Regions from separate parts of the Homo sapiens genome. Here region 1 is linked to region 2. Evidence: promoter capture Hi-C in 16 types of primary human blood cells and fetal thymus (Javierre and others, 2016). All regions are on one chromosome and are shown on one strand. Each heading gives the region's core, a stretch centred on a gene start or on the middle of the fragment in contact. The rest is flanking DNA. Distances are from core to core; before and after follow the strand shown. Region 1 overlaps LOC105370273 (a long non-coding RNA gene). Region 2 holds the start of OBI1 (ORC ubiquitin ligase 1).

Region 1 (6,155 bases), core at 2,365-4,864, 320 kb before region 2:
TACAAATAATTCTCATATCCTAATATTAACATTTATCATGTATTTTTATAAATAATGTAAGAATTGTAGGGATGAAAACTCCTTCCCTTTAAATACTTCAGTTTGCAATTCTTAAAAACAGAAAATGCTCTTATCTAACTACAATACAATTAATAAAGTCAGGAGACTAACACTGAGACAATACAATTACCTAAACAACCAACTTATATTCAGATTTTGCTAATTGACTTGATGTCTTTTATAAGAAAAAAAACACAAAGTCACACTTAACCATCGGGTCTCTTTAGTCTTTTAAAATCTAGAACAGTATTTACTATTTCTTTGTGGCTCATGACAGGGACATTTTATAAGCCAATTATAAGGTTGGTCTAATGTTTCTTCATGATGTTAGATTTAGGATTTGGGCTTTTGGTAGGAATAACACAAAAGCAATACTTAATTATCAGTGCTTTCTCTCAGGAAGCACAAACTAGATTTGTGCATTTGTTGGTGATGTTAACTTTGAGCACTTGGTTAAAGGGAGATTTACCACGATCCTCTACTTTCAAGTCTTTAAAAGTGGAGAGAAACTATGATATTATATCAATAATTCTTCTCAAAATTTATCCACTGGTTGTAGTCCATTAATGATACTTTCCTGAGTCAATTATTATTATTAGGGCTGCCAAATGGTGGTTTTTCTAATTTCATAATTTCTTTAACATTTATTACAAATGTTGCCTTCCTATTGTTAGAAAACTTCCTTCTCATTCATATGTTTGTTTATATGTTTATATTAACATGAACTCATGGAGTTTTACCCTATCCAGTGGGTACAAACTTTTACTGTCATTATTTATTTTGATTCTAAATGGTCCCAGACTTGTCTGGTGGGGGCCCCTCAAGCTGGCTCCTAAATTTCATTTATTTCATTTTATTTTGAGACAGAGTCTCACTGTGTCACCCAGGCTGGAGTGCAGTGGCAAGATCTCGGCTCACTGCAGTCTCTGCCTCCTGGGTTCAAGCAATTCTCCTGTCTCAGCCTCCCAAGTAGCTGGGATTACAGGCGCCTGCCACCATGCCCAGATAATTTTTGTATTTTTAGTAGAGACGGGGTTTCACTGCATTGGCCAGGCTGGTCTCAAACTCCTGTCTTCAGGTGATCCACCTGCCTTGGCCTCCCAAAGTGCTGGGATTCAGGTGTGAACCACCATGCCTGGACAAATTTCACTGATATTTAATCAATTTTCAAGTGGTTTTCTTTGCATCTTATATTCACATCCCTACCAACCTCACACTTTGATCTTGTTGTTCTTTTAGTTTTGTAAACACTGCAAAGCAGCCATGTATACCCTTCAATGAAGAAGGATAAGTAATCACAAATTAGGATACTCTTAAAAAACTTGTCTTTGAAGACTTTATTCTTCATAATCAAATTTTACATAAAGCCAATCCCAATATCAATTTAGGGTGATAATGTAGGACAGTAACAGCAGCTGAATTTTGTGTTTTAAAGCAAACCTGCATTTTGATTTTTTTCCGATTATTTCATTCTCGATCACTTTATTTGCAGATTCAGAAAAGCCTGAATTTGCAAAAAGTTTGTTTCGATCATCATAGGCAAGGTGAAATAGAAAGTCGAAGAAATCATCTCGGTCATTACGGTAAAGTACCACTTCTTTCTGTGGGTAAAAGTATTCTTGGTTTTCTGTTTGTTTTCAGGGCTGAGAGTGTATGTGTGGGTGCAGAGGGTGGGCAGTGTGGGCGTCAGATGGAATAGGGGAAGAGGGAGAAGGTAGTGTGGGAGAGGGCCACCTACCCTACCCAAGAAACTTAGCAGGCTACAATGATAAAGTGTAAAGAACAATTACTCAATTAAGATTACTCTGTCTCTGTAAATCTACTTGCCTCTTTAGACACATTTAAAATATTATAGGATTTTAAGGTTTCCAGGGCTAATTTTAAGACACAAACCCCTAAGCAATGCACATGAAAAAAACAATACCTTTCCTTTGGGACTACCTTTTCAAACTCCAGTGTTTCAAATACAAATTACAGCAGATACATTTATGAAATGAGTGGCCATGGATCCTCTAGAAGTCCTTCAGCTAGGATGCTCAGCTTGGTGGCAAAGGTATGTTAGCATCCAGCCAGGACTCCAAAAGCCGTGATCCCATAATTGATCCGACTGAGACTGTGGAGGAATTTAAGCATAACATAATCCCTCAAATCATCTTTTGGCCCCAATTGCATGTTAACAGTTGCACAGAAATTAGGCTACACGTGTATTTATTATTTTGCAGCTTTGCAGACACAACAGTATATTCCCCCATCTGATTTATTTGATTGACAGAGGCCTTGTTTCGGTTGCTGGAGCTCCATTTCTCTGGCTCTAAGAAATTCAGAAAGTGGCAACCAGGGAAAAGACAAGCAACCAAATCTCCTGCTTTCACAACTGCAGTGCTGTCTGAGCTTGTGTCTGGACTATCATATACCATTACAGTTGATCAAGCTTAAAAAGCAAACTCAGATTTTCAAGCAAAGCAGTCACTGGAGTACATTTATGGATCGTGTTCTCATTCCAATACAGTCCCCAGGGGAGAAAGTGAACAGCACCAGGAATGGATCTGCTGTTTCCCTTCAATATAAGTTTTGCATAATACAGAAATGCTAGTCTGTAAACAATATGAACACCTGTCATACACATGACAACCAGAAGGTGGCACAGTCTTAACATTGACCAAGTTCTGTCAGCTCTACTGTTGAATCCAAGCAGATTTGTGATAACTGCTGATTGCACTATATACATTCATTTATGCATTTGTGTCTGTCCTCAACTACATATAAACAAACCTCTTCCTATGCCTGAAAACTGAGAACTCTTTGCTTGTTTCCATTTTCTTTTTATCCCCTCTCCCCTCCCCACCTATACAATTAATATTGTTTTGGTTTAAGCTTCAGAGGACTTGAATATTGCTCTGTATTTATCTTCCTGTTAGAAGCACTTGGTTCATGAAACCTAAATGGAGCCTCATGATTTGCATCTTTCTTATGTCTTATTTGTAACCGATTGCCATCATGAGAAGATCTTAATTTTATATTCATTCATTAGTAGAGTTTCATTCAAATAGTAATTAACTCTTTGATCAAAACTAACAAAATGAATTACTAGTATTGAGTGGTGTGCATTCATATAATTCAAAAGGAAATTATAAATTTCTGATGCGTTAAACATTAGATTTATATTGCAGGTTCCATTATAAAGAAAAGGCCATGAATTCACTAGTATTTTTCTTTCTTTAAGAGAAAAGAGAGCATGCCTTTGTATTTTATGAAACTGGATTTATTAAGATTCATGAGAGGCCTTAATGGTAAAAATGAACAGTGTGTAAAAAAGTTGGCAACATTTCATCACAACCTGTGAGTGCTGGCAATTGGCATCATTTTTATACCCAAAACGTACACTTCTCATGGCCACCAAGTAAACTCTTTAAAATTAGTTACCCTTCAATTGTGAATAAAACCAATTTCCCTGATGTGAATTCTTGTATTTATTATTTCTTGTTCATTTAGGTGGAAGGTCTAGATTGAAAATGGACCTCCTGTTTTCCAATATTTGGGACAGCTCCCTTCCACATTATCCCTCCATGCTTCCATGCTCACACCTCTCCACAAATGGGGGAGTTCCCTGTAAATTGTTCCTTTCACTTGGCCTTCTATGCATTCTCTCCTTCTGCCTCTGCCATCTGGCAGCCTTCCTGCCCCCACATGATGTCCTCTGTCCTTAGTCCAATATGCCTGTCAGAATGCTTATTGGGAGGGCAACCCTCTCCAACTGGGAAGCATACTTAGCCCCTACGTATAGGCGGCATCTAACATTGGTTGAACTAAACCATCACTTAGTCATGGGGAGTTCAAATAGCAACACAGAGAAAAGTCTATATTTACTTTTTAATAAGCATAAATCCTGAAGCGATGACTCATTCCTATGAGCACCCTTCCCTACTAAGTCCCCCTTAAAAAAAAAGGCACCACTTAAAAACCAGATTCTAGATATTTCTCTTTACAGAATATGAAGAAAGTAGGCTTAAGTGAAGCCAAGTGGGTAATATATACAAATATACATCTTTTTCCTTGTTGGACATTTTTGAAGGCTATTTTACAGGTATAAATAGGTCACACCTCAGAGAACCTAAACGTTTTATCTTATATGCCCTAACCTCAACCTTCTAGGCTTTAGAATCAATAATGGCATTTTTTTGTCCCCTCCGGTTCCATTTCTACTTAAGCCATAAACCACAGAAATGGAAGCTTAACCTCATACTGGCTGTGTGACATTTTGACTCTCCCCTCAGGGTCCTGAAATATCCCAGCATATGCCCATTCTGGCATAAATCAGAGAACGGCAAGCTCAGGGGACACCATATGGCCAAACGCCTGCATGTTACATTGGGGCATGCTGAGGCTTCAGGTACGCCCAGCTAGGCTTAGATCTGGTGTTGGTCTCATGGGCCAGAATTGAATTCTAAGAAGTCCTCTGGGGAGGACAGTCCAGCCTATGGAGGGCTGAGAATAGCTACTTCAACCTGGAAATGTTTCAAGAATCTACGCTAATTGAGATTGAATTGTCATCCTCTCATGTGAATCATCAACTACAGTCCTCTTCTGCTCAAGGATAAGTGGTGAAGTGAAGATTTACTTCTATAGGGGCCAAGTGGAGACAGTGCTCCACTCCTCCCTGACATAGCCTGGGTGCTTTAGGAACCAGGAGGTTTTCCTCCTCTCCAACTGAATAACACCATAGTAGGTCTAACAGATAAACGATAAAGCCTCAGGATTCTCATGCCAGTATACAGTAGGTGCTAAATAATGTTAAAGCGAACAAATAAGCTCTCAGGTTCCATGAAATTAAACGTAGGTGGTAGAAATAAATCTTGAAACTTTCCTTCTGCTCCCTCTTCTCTCTTCCCTGTGTCTTATAGATTCTGATTTTCTATTTAGCTCCAGAGTCTACATCAGAAGTTGTAGATTTCTTTTTGTGGAGATGTTGTTGAGGGTGTGATAAAGAAGGCTGGCTTGCAACAAAAGTCAGGAGAGCCCTTATGCTGTTTCCTTAATAAAGTATAATAATTCAAATCAATTAAATTTAAACTTCTTAGTAGTATAATATAATCAATTATGTACGTGAAAAATGAGGAAGACAAAGTAGATACAGAAAGGAGAATTTGGGGCCAGGTGCGGCAGCTCACACCTGTAATCCCAGCACTTTGGGAGGCCAAGGTGGCAGGATCACTTGAGGTCAGGAGTTCAAGACCAGCCTGGCCAACATGGTGAAATCCCATCGCTTCTAAAAAATACAAAAGTTAGCTGAGTGTGGTGGCATGTGCCTGTAATCCCAGCTATTCAGGAGGCTGAGGCAGGAGAATCGCTTGAACCCTGAAGCCAGAGGTTGCAGTGAACTGAGATCGCACCACTGCACTCCCACCTGGGTGACAGAGTGAGACTGTCTCATAAAAAAAGGAGAATTTGGAAAGGAATGGAAAAATAGAAAAAAATGTGAGGATGAGAAAGTGGGAAAGAGGTAGAGAGTAGGCTGTGATAATGTGTACCAAAGAAAAACAAACACGCAATTAGTTAGGCCAGTGATGTTTTTGAAGGATTGCTTTCCTCACTGTGCTTGAGTGCCCTCATTTGTAAATGTGTACTTTCTTCTGAAAACTGTTGTGGAGATAATATGAGTTTGGTGGTGAAAATACCTGGTATTGGCACATGGCATATGGCAAGCCCTCACAAAACTTAGCCATTATTTTTCTTTCCTTATGGGTAAATCAATATGATAAGGATGGCACATCTTTACAATTTAATTTTTAGATTTAAGGAAATTACAACAAAGATCCCAGTGGGTTTGGAGTGGAGGGAGATAATACAAGTATTAAATTCATTCAAAAGAATAAAACAAATAATTAAGAACCCTTCAAAAAATAAAAAGGATTCAGGTGTTTGTTTTTTGAGACAAAATGTCTCGCTCTGTCACTCAGTCTGGAATGCAGTGGCGGGATCTCCGCTCACTGCAAGCTCTGCCTCCCGGGTTCAAGTGATTCTCCTGCCTCAGCCTCCTGAGTAGCTGGGATTACAGGTGTGCACCACCATGCCCAGCTAATTTTTGTATTTTTAGT
Region 2 (6,037 bases), core at 1,231-3,730:
GAGCAGAGAAGAGATAATTCCTGACCTTAAGCCACTTGCATTATTAAAAGCAAAGCCTGGGAACTAGCCTGGCATTCATCTGGACTGAGGAAGAGTCCTAATCAATCTATATTGCTAACAATATTATTTGGATATGTGTGTGCATGTGTGAGGGCATATGTGTATTGATTCATAAAACATTAAGTGAATAAAGCAGGTATGTTATGCTATGACCTTGTTTGTGCTTATGTATACAGTAATAGATGAATTAGTATGTTTTAAGGATATGTTCTAGAATGTTAATAGTGATTTCTACACTGGATACAGAGGTGAGGCAGAAATATGGAGGAACTTTTACTTATTTTATATACTTTTTAATGGCTTGTTTTTCTTAAAATGAGCATGTGTTATTTTTATAATTCTCAAAAAGCAATAGAATCTTCCATTTTGAGATTAAAAACAAGTAAAGAAATTGTTTAAAATAAAACAGCCTGAGTTTATTATAAAGGTAGGCTGTAGCAAATGAGAATATTACTATTTGTGGAACAGTAACCTATTACAGACATTAGATAAATTGGATGCAATCCCTGACCTCAAGAAACATAGCCTGTTGTGGGGACAAACACATCACCAACTATAATACAATGTCATCAGCACAGAAATGGCTGTATGGACTGTGCACTGAAACACTGAGAAGCTGTGACAATGGTATGAAATGTGGAAAGAGATGTTAGAGATAGTCTAAATTTTAATACTTTACTTAAAATGCAGGATATGATTTTTAAAATTATCTTTGTGACTACATATTGACACCCATCAACAAGATGATTTACAAGGAAATGAACTTGCCCCATTAAGTAATGGGAAATGTTTTGAAAAGAAATGTCTTTACAATAGAATACTATTGAGCCATAAAAAATAATAAAATCCTGTCATTTGCAACGGCATGGTTGAACCTGGAGGACGCTGTGTTGAGTGAAACAAGCCAGACACAGAAAGACAATTACCACATGATCTCACATGTACAATCTAATAAAGTTGATCTCACAGAAGTAGAGTGCAGAATAGTGCTCACGGCTGTAATCCCAGCACTGTCGGTAGGTCAAGGAGGGGGGATCCATTGAGCCCAGGAGCTCAAGACCAGCCTGGGCAACATGGGGAAACCACTCCCCGACCCTCGAGGCAGGCGGATCACTTGAGGTCAGGAGTTGGAGACCAGCCTGACCAACAGGGTGAAACTCCGTCTTTACTAAAAATACAAAAATTAGCCAAGCATGGTGGCGCATGACTGTAATCCCAGCTACTCGGGAGGCTGGCTGAGGCAGGCGGATGGGATCGCTTGAGCCTGGGAGGTCGCTGTGTTGGCACCTAGTGGTGACAGAGCTAGACCCTATCTCAAAAAACAAAACAAAAGTTGCCAGAAGCCATGGAGCTACCGTTTAGGTAGGAAGTTGTTGGGGGCAGGGATTTCCGCTGAAGCAGCCCAGGTCCAGAACCCCTTTCTCTTAACCATGAGGCTGCTTCTTGAAGTCATACTGCGTCTTTTTCACAAAGATTAGTAAAAGTTGTCCCGATGGTCTTGTCTTTAAATCTCTCAACTCACAGATTTTACTTGTTAGCGTAATTTATCACATCAGCTCTTCCTCGCTTCAAGTAAGTTGCAGATAAATTCCAAATTTGTTATACTGCATTTAAGATAAATTTAGGAACTTTTAGGTTTTTTTCTTTTTTGTTGGTAGGAAACGCAACTTATAACCTCACAAATTCTCCCTTGGGGTTCAACAACACAGCGGTACATTTCATATGCAACCATGCACCTGAAATGAAGACGTGAAAACGTTAATCTCCTTTTGGTGGAAAACCCAGAGAAGCCCACAGTAAAAATGTATTTTCAGGGAAAGCTGCGATTAAATGTATCAGGATCGTCTCGGACACAGATAAGGAGACAATCACTGTTTTCTTAAGTGAATTATTGTGCCCTCTGGAAGCACATTATATTGAGTGGAAAGAGAACTGACAGAGGTGGAAAGCTGTTTTGAAAAAAATTGAAACGTGTAGATAATGTCTTTTCTCTATGTTTTGATTACGCTGTGTTGGCGGATGTGTGGGGTTTAATAATTAGGCGAAAAACTCTCCATCCTTCACCCCATCCAATCCCCGAAAACAATTTGGGGATTTAAAAAATCGCCTTTCCGTATCTTCCTCTTCTGTCTCCACTATTCCGCTTTCCTTTAGATTTTCCAAGATCCTCGATACTTGTAGTAAACTACCTTCCTACACATTCGCAGGAATCTTGCAGCTCCCTAATCAGTGAATTTTCTTTCTTTCTTTCTTTCTTTCTTTTTTTTTTTTTTTTTTTTAATGAAAGGAAAACGCCTTGGAGATCGCGCGTTTCGAAAGCGCGTTTTCGTTTTCTCTCCTGGGCGGGTTATGGCCCTACCGGGGCGCCGTAGCCGGCCCGCGCGTGCCCAGTCTTGGCGAAGAGTAGCGGTAGGTCGGCGGGACTTCCGTGTTGGCGGGATTCTGAACGCTGCCATGGCTCAGACCGTGCAGAATGTTACATTGTCGCTCACTCTGCCCATCACGTGCCACATTTGCTTGGGGAAGGTAATGGGTGATTGTGGGCACAGCTACAAAACGGGGTTGGATAAGTCGCTCGCCGGGGCCGAGGGCCGTCTCGTGCGGGGGCGGGGAAGGGGCGTGAGGCGCGGAGATGGGAGAAAACGCTAACCCGCGTTCTTGATGGGAGGCCGCGTCCTGGGAGATGGGGGTAGCGCACCGTGATTAATGGATTCATCTGGGCGCCTTTCGGAGGAGGGTGACAGCGGCCCGTGGTCTGCCGGGAGGGCGGCGAGACGGCCCTGCCACCGCCCGCGGCCTCACACTGGCAAGACACCGGCCTCGAAGGAGGCCCCATCAGAAACGCATCGCAGGGATATTTAACTTCCCTCTGCAGCCTCGCGTGGCGTGTAGTGAAGCCCATTAAAACACATTTCCTGGGAGCCTCACCTCGGGCTTCTTAGTCCTCTGTAACTAGTGTTCATCCTCTGGGGCCTACGGTGCTGTGTATTGAGTCTTTTCCATTTCCAAGACCTTTTGCCTTTATCCTGGCCTTGAGGATGACCTTTGCTCTGAATTCCTAATTTGAAAAGTAAATAGTAAGTGCTCCTGGAGGGTATTAGAATAAGAGGTGTGGCTTTTAACTCCAAGAATGGGTCAGTCAGGAGATAGAATACTCTCTCTTTGTGATGCAAGAGGTGCCTAGTGTGTTTGTGAAACAAGGTAGGGAAAGTGGTTCTGAATTAGAAACGGAGCTTTGAATATTCTAATGCATTCCTCTCCTCTTTCATTTCCATTTGTGCCTCACTTTCGGTGTTTTAAAGAGCATTTCTTTACCGAATAGATAAAGAAGGGGAAAGATAAACCACCAACTTTTTTCCACCCTGAATTATTTTTACGTCTGTGGTGTGTCAGGGTGTGTGTTTACCCCCCAGCGCAGACTGAGCCGTAGACTCAGATTTGAGAAATACAAACTTCTAGAGCAAGCATTTGAGTGCCGGCCAATACGATCTGCCTGGGGTGTTTGAAGTTCTGTGTGAATTTACTGGATTCAAAAAGTAGAAGAAAGTCAGCATTGGAAGCAACTGATAATTCTGGATAGCAGTCAGAATGAAATGCCAATGAAATAGCAAATGTGCTGGGAGATCATGGATTGGGGATGGCTTGATCAATTTGGAGAGATCAAGGATGGCCTCATCGAGGATGGTGTTTGAGCTGGCATTGAGCTATTACTTACTGCCTGCACGGCTAGGGGGAGGGAAGAAGCGATGTTTCTATTTGCCACAGTCTACATTTGGCTCCTGACATAAAGTTCCTGGAAATATGTGTTAAATTCTGAGTTAATTTCCTCCAACACTGGCTTTAAAGGCTGATAAAAATATTCTTGGGAAGTATTTTGTACACATTATATATAGTTTCCATTAGTTATAGGCTGTCTTTTGCAATTGTATTGACAGTGTTCTGTTTGATTTACCAAACCTATACTTTTTGTATTTAACGAGAGTGATACCTCATAGAATATAGTGATTTGCAGACTACAGAGTGCTTTTGTATGCATATATTATTTTGTTTACTCTTCACACCAATGCTTTAAGATAGGGCTGGTTTTTCCATTTTTAAAATAAGAATATTAAAGCTTAGAGTCTGTGGTTGAACCTCTATACTATCATTTGTGTCTTCAGAATACTAAGACTTTGAGTCTTCATAGTTGAACCTCTATCATTATTACCATTTGTCTTCAGATTACTTCGTAAAACCCTCACCTAAGTTCATCCATGACATCAGGCATTTTTAGTGTTTTTTTTTTCCTGTATTGGTTAACTTTATTCTGAAATAAAAATCAGATAATAAAAATAAAAAGATTAAGACTTTTGTCTTAATCTTATGTGCCAGACTTTATGCTAAACTTTGCACATGCTTCATTTAATCTTCTGAAAACAGAAAGGATGGGGAGTTGATGTTATTACCATATTTCTACTGTTACAGATAAGGAAACAGGCTCAAAAAGGTTAAGCCAGGCGCGGTGGCTCACGCCTGTAATCCCAGCACTTTGGGAGGCCGAGGCGGGCAGATCGCCTGAGGTCAGGAGTTTGAGACCAGCATGGCCAATATGGTGAAACCCCATCGCTACTAAAAATACAAAATTTGCTGGGTGTGGTGGCAGGCGCCTGTAATCCCAGTTGAGGCAGGAGAATTGCTTGAACCTGGGAGGCGGAGGTTGTAGTGAGCTGAGATCGCGCCATTGCACTCCAGCCTGGGCAACAAGAGTGAGACTTTGTCTCAAAAAAAAAAAAAAAAAAAAAATTAAAAATAAAAGAAAATTAATTAATTAAGGATTTTTAAACAGGCTCCTCCCCCCCCCCCCCCAGGTACCATGGAAGCAGAAAGGATATGTGACTGAGGGCCTGAGTTCTACATTCAGGCTAGCCGGGTTCTAATCTAATCTACCACTTACCACTCATACAACCTTTTACAAGTTACTTAACTTTTTTTCTTTTTTTTTTCTTTTTTTCTGAGACGGAGTTTCGCTCTTGTTGCCCGGGCTGGAGAGCAATGGCGCGATCTCGGCTCACCGCAACCTCCGCCTCCCGGGTTCAAGCAATTCTCCTGCCTCAGCCTCCTGAGTAGCTGGGATTACAGGCATGCGCCACCACGCCCGGCAAATTTTGTATTTTTGGTAGAGACGGGGTTTCTCCATGTTGGTCAGGCTGGTCTTGAACTCCCGAACTAGGTGATCTGCCCGCCTCGGCCTCCCAAAGTGCTGGGATTACAAGCGTGAGCCACCACTCCCAGCTTAAGTTACTTAACTCTTTTGAGCCTGTTTCCTTATCTGTAACAGTAAAAATATGGTAATAACATCAACTCCCCATCCTTTCAGTTTTCAGAAGATTAAACAAAGCATGTGCAAAGTTTAGCATAAAGTCTGGCACATAATGTTTAATAACTGTTAGCTTTTACTATAGCCATTGAGGCCAGCCCTCAAACTGAGGAAACCAGCCTTTTCCAGTAATTGTTCTTCCCAGTTGCTTTGTGAGGCTGGAGCACTTCAAAATGAAGATTTGCATTCCCAACCAAATGAGACCTGTTTGTTCTGGAAATTGCCACAGTACATCCAGAATTTTCAGCTGGTTCCATGTCTCTTTTCTTTTTTATAGTGAAAGCAAATTCAGTATGATTGTGCTGCTCACCCTCCTACACGTATTATACTGTGAGATACTAAAACTGGCGTGTCCTCAGGTTCGCTTCTGCTTCCCTGACATAGAGCATCTCTGGCCACTTCTAAGAATGTTCCTAAGGTCCTTCGTGCCTAGCTCTTTTTTAAAGATAATTGTTCTTGTGCTACTGTTACCATATGTCCCCAGATCTCACAGTCAGCATCTTCTCTTTTGATTATTCAACAGAATTAAGGACCATTATCCCTGGAGGGTCACAAGGTGGATACCATGAAGGGGGAGAGATGAGGGCAGGGCATTAAATCTGAAGAGATAGATGCCAGTGG

Evidence for each region. The method cuts DNA at HindIII sites, captures the fragments that hold promoters and counts their contacts. A CHiCAGO score of 5 or more calls a contact.
Region 1: a fragment that was not itself captured here is called in contact with the fragment with the promoter of OBI1 in region 2 in 3 of 17 cell types (M1 macrophages, M2 macrophages and M0 macrophages); the score reaches 8.4 in M1 macrophages.

What each region holds. Positions count from the first base shown.
Region 1 is chr13:78,975,133-78,981,287 of GRCh38, reverse strand. LOC105370273 (a long non-coding RNA gene) reads left to right here. Exons shown (of 5, transcript XR_942108.4): 2 at 1,553-1,643. Among named protein-coding and RNA genes, the nearest start is that of LINC00331, 140 kb to the right of the region's middle. The HindIII fragment of the contact is 1,356 bases long and covers 2,937-4,292 here.
Region 2 is chr13:78,655,598-78,661,634 of GRCh38, reverse strand. It overlaps OBI1 (ORC ubiquitin ligase 1), which reads left to right and starts at 2,480. Exons shown (of 6, transcript NM_024546.4): 1 at 2,480-2,586. The coding sequence starts at 2,515. RefSeq lists enhancers at 3,122-3,201, 3,112-4,072. The HindIII fragment of the contact is 7,616 bases long and covers 1-4,176 here.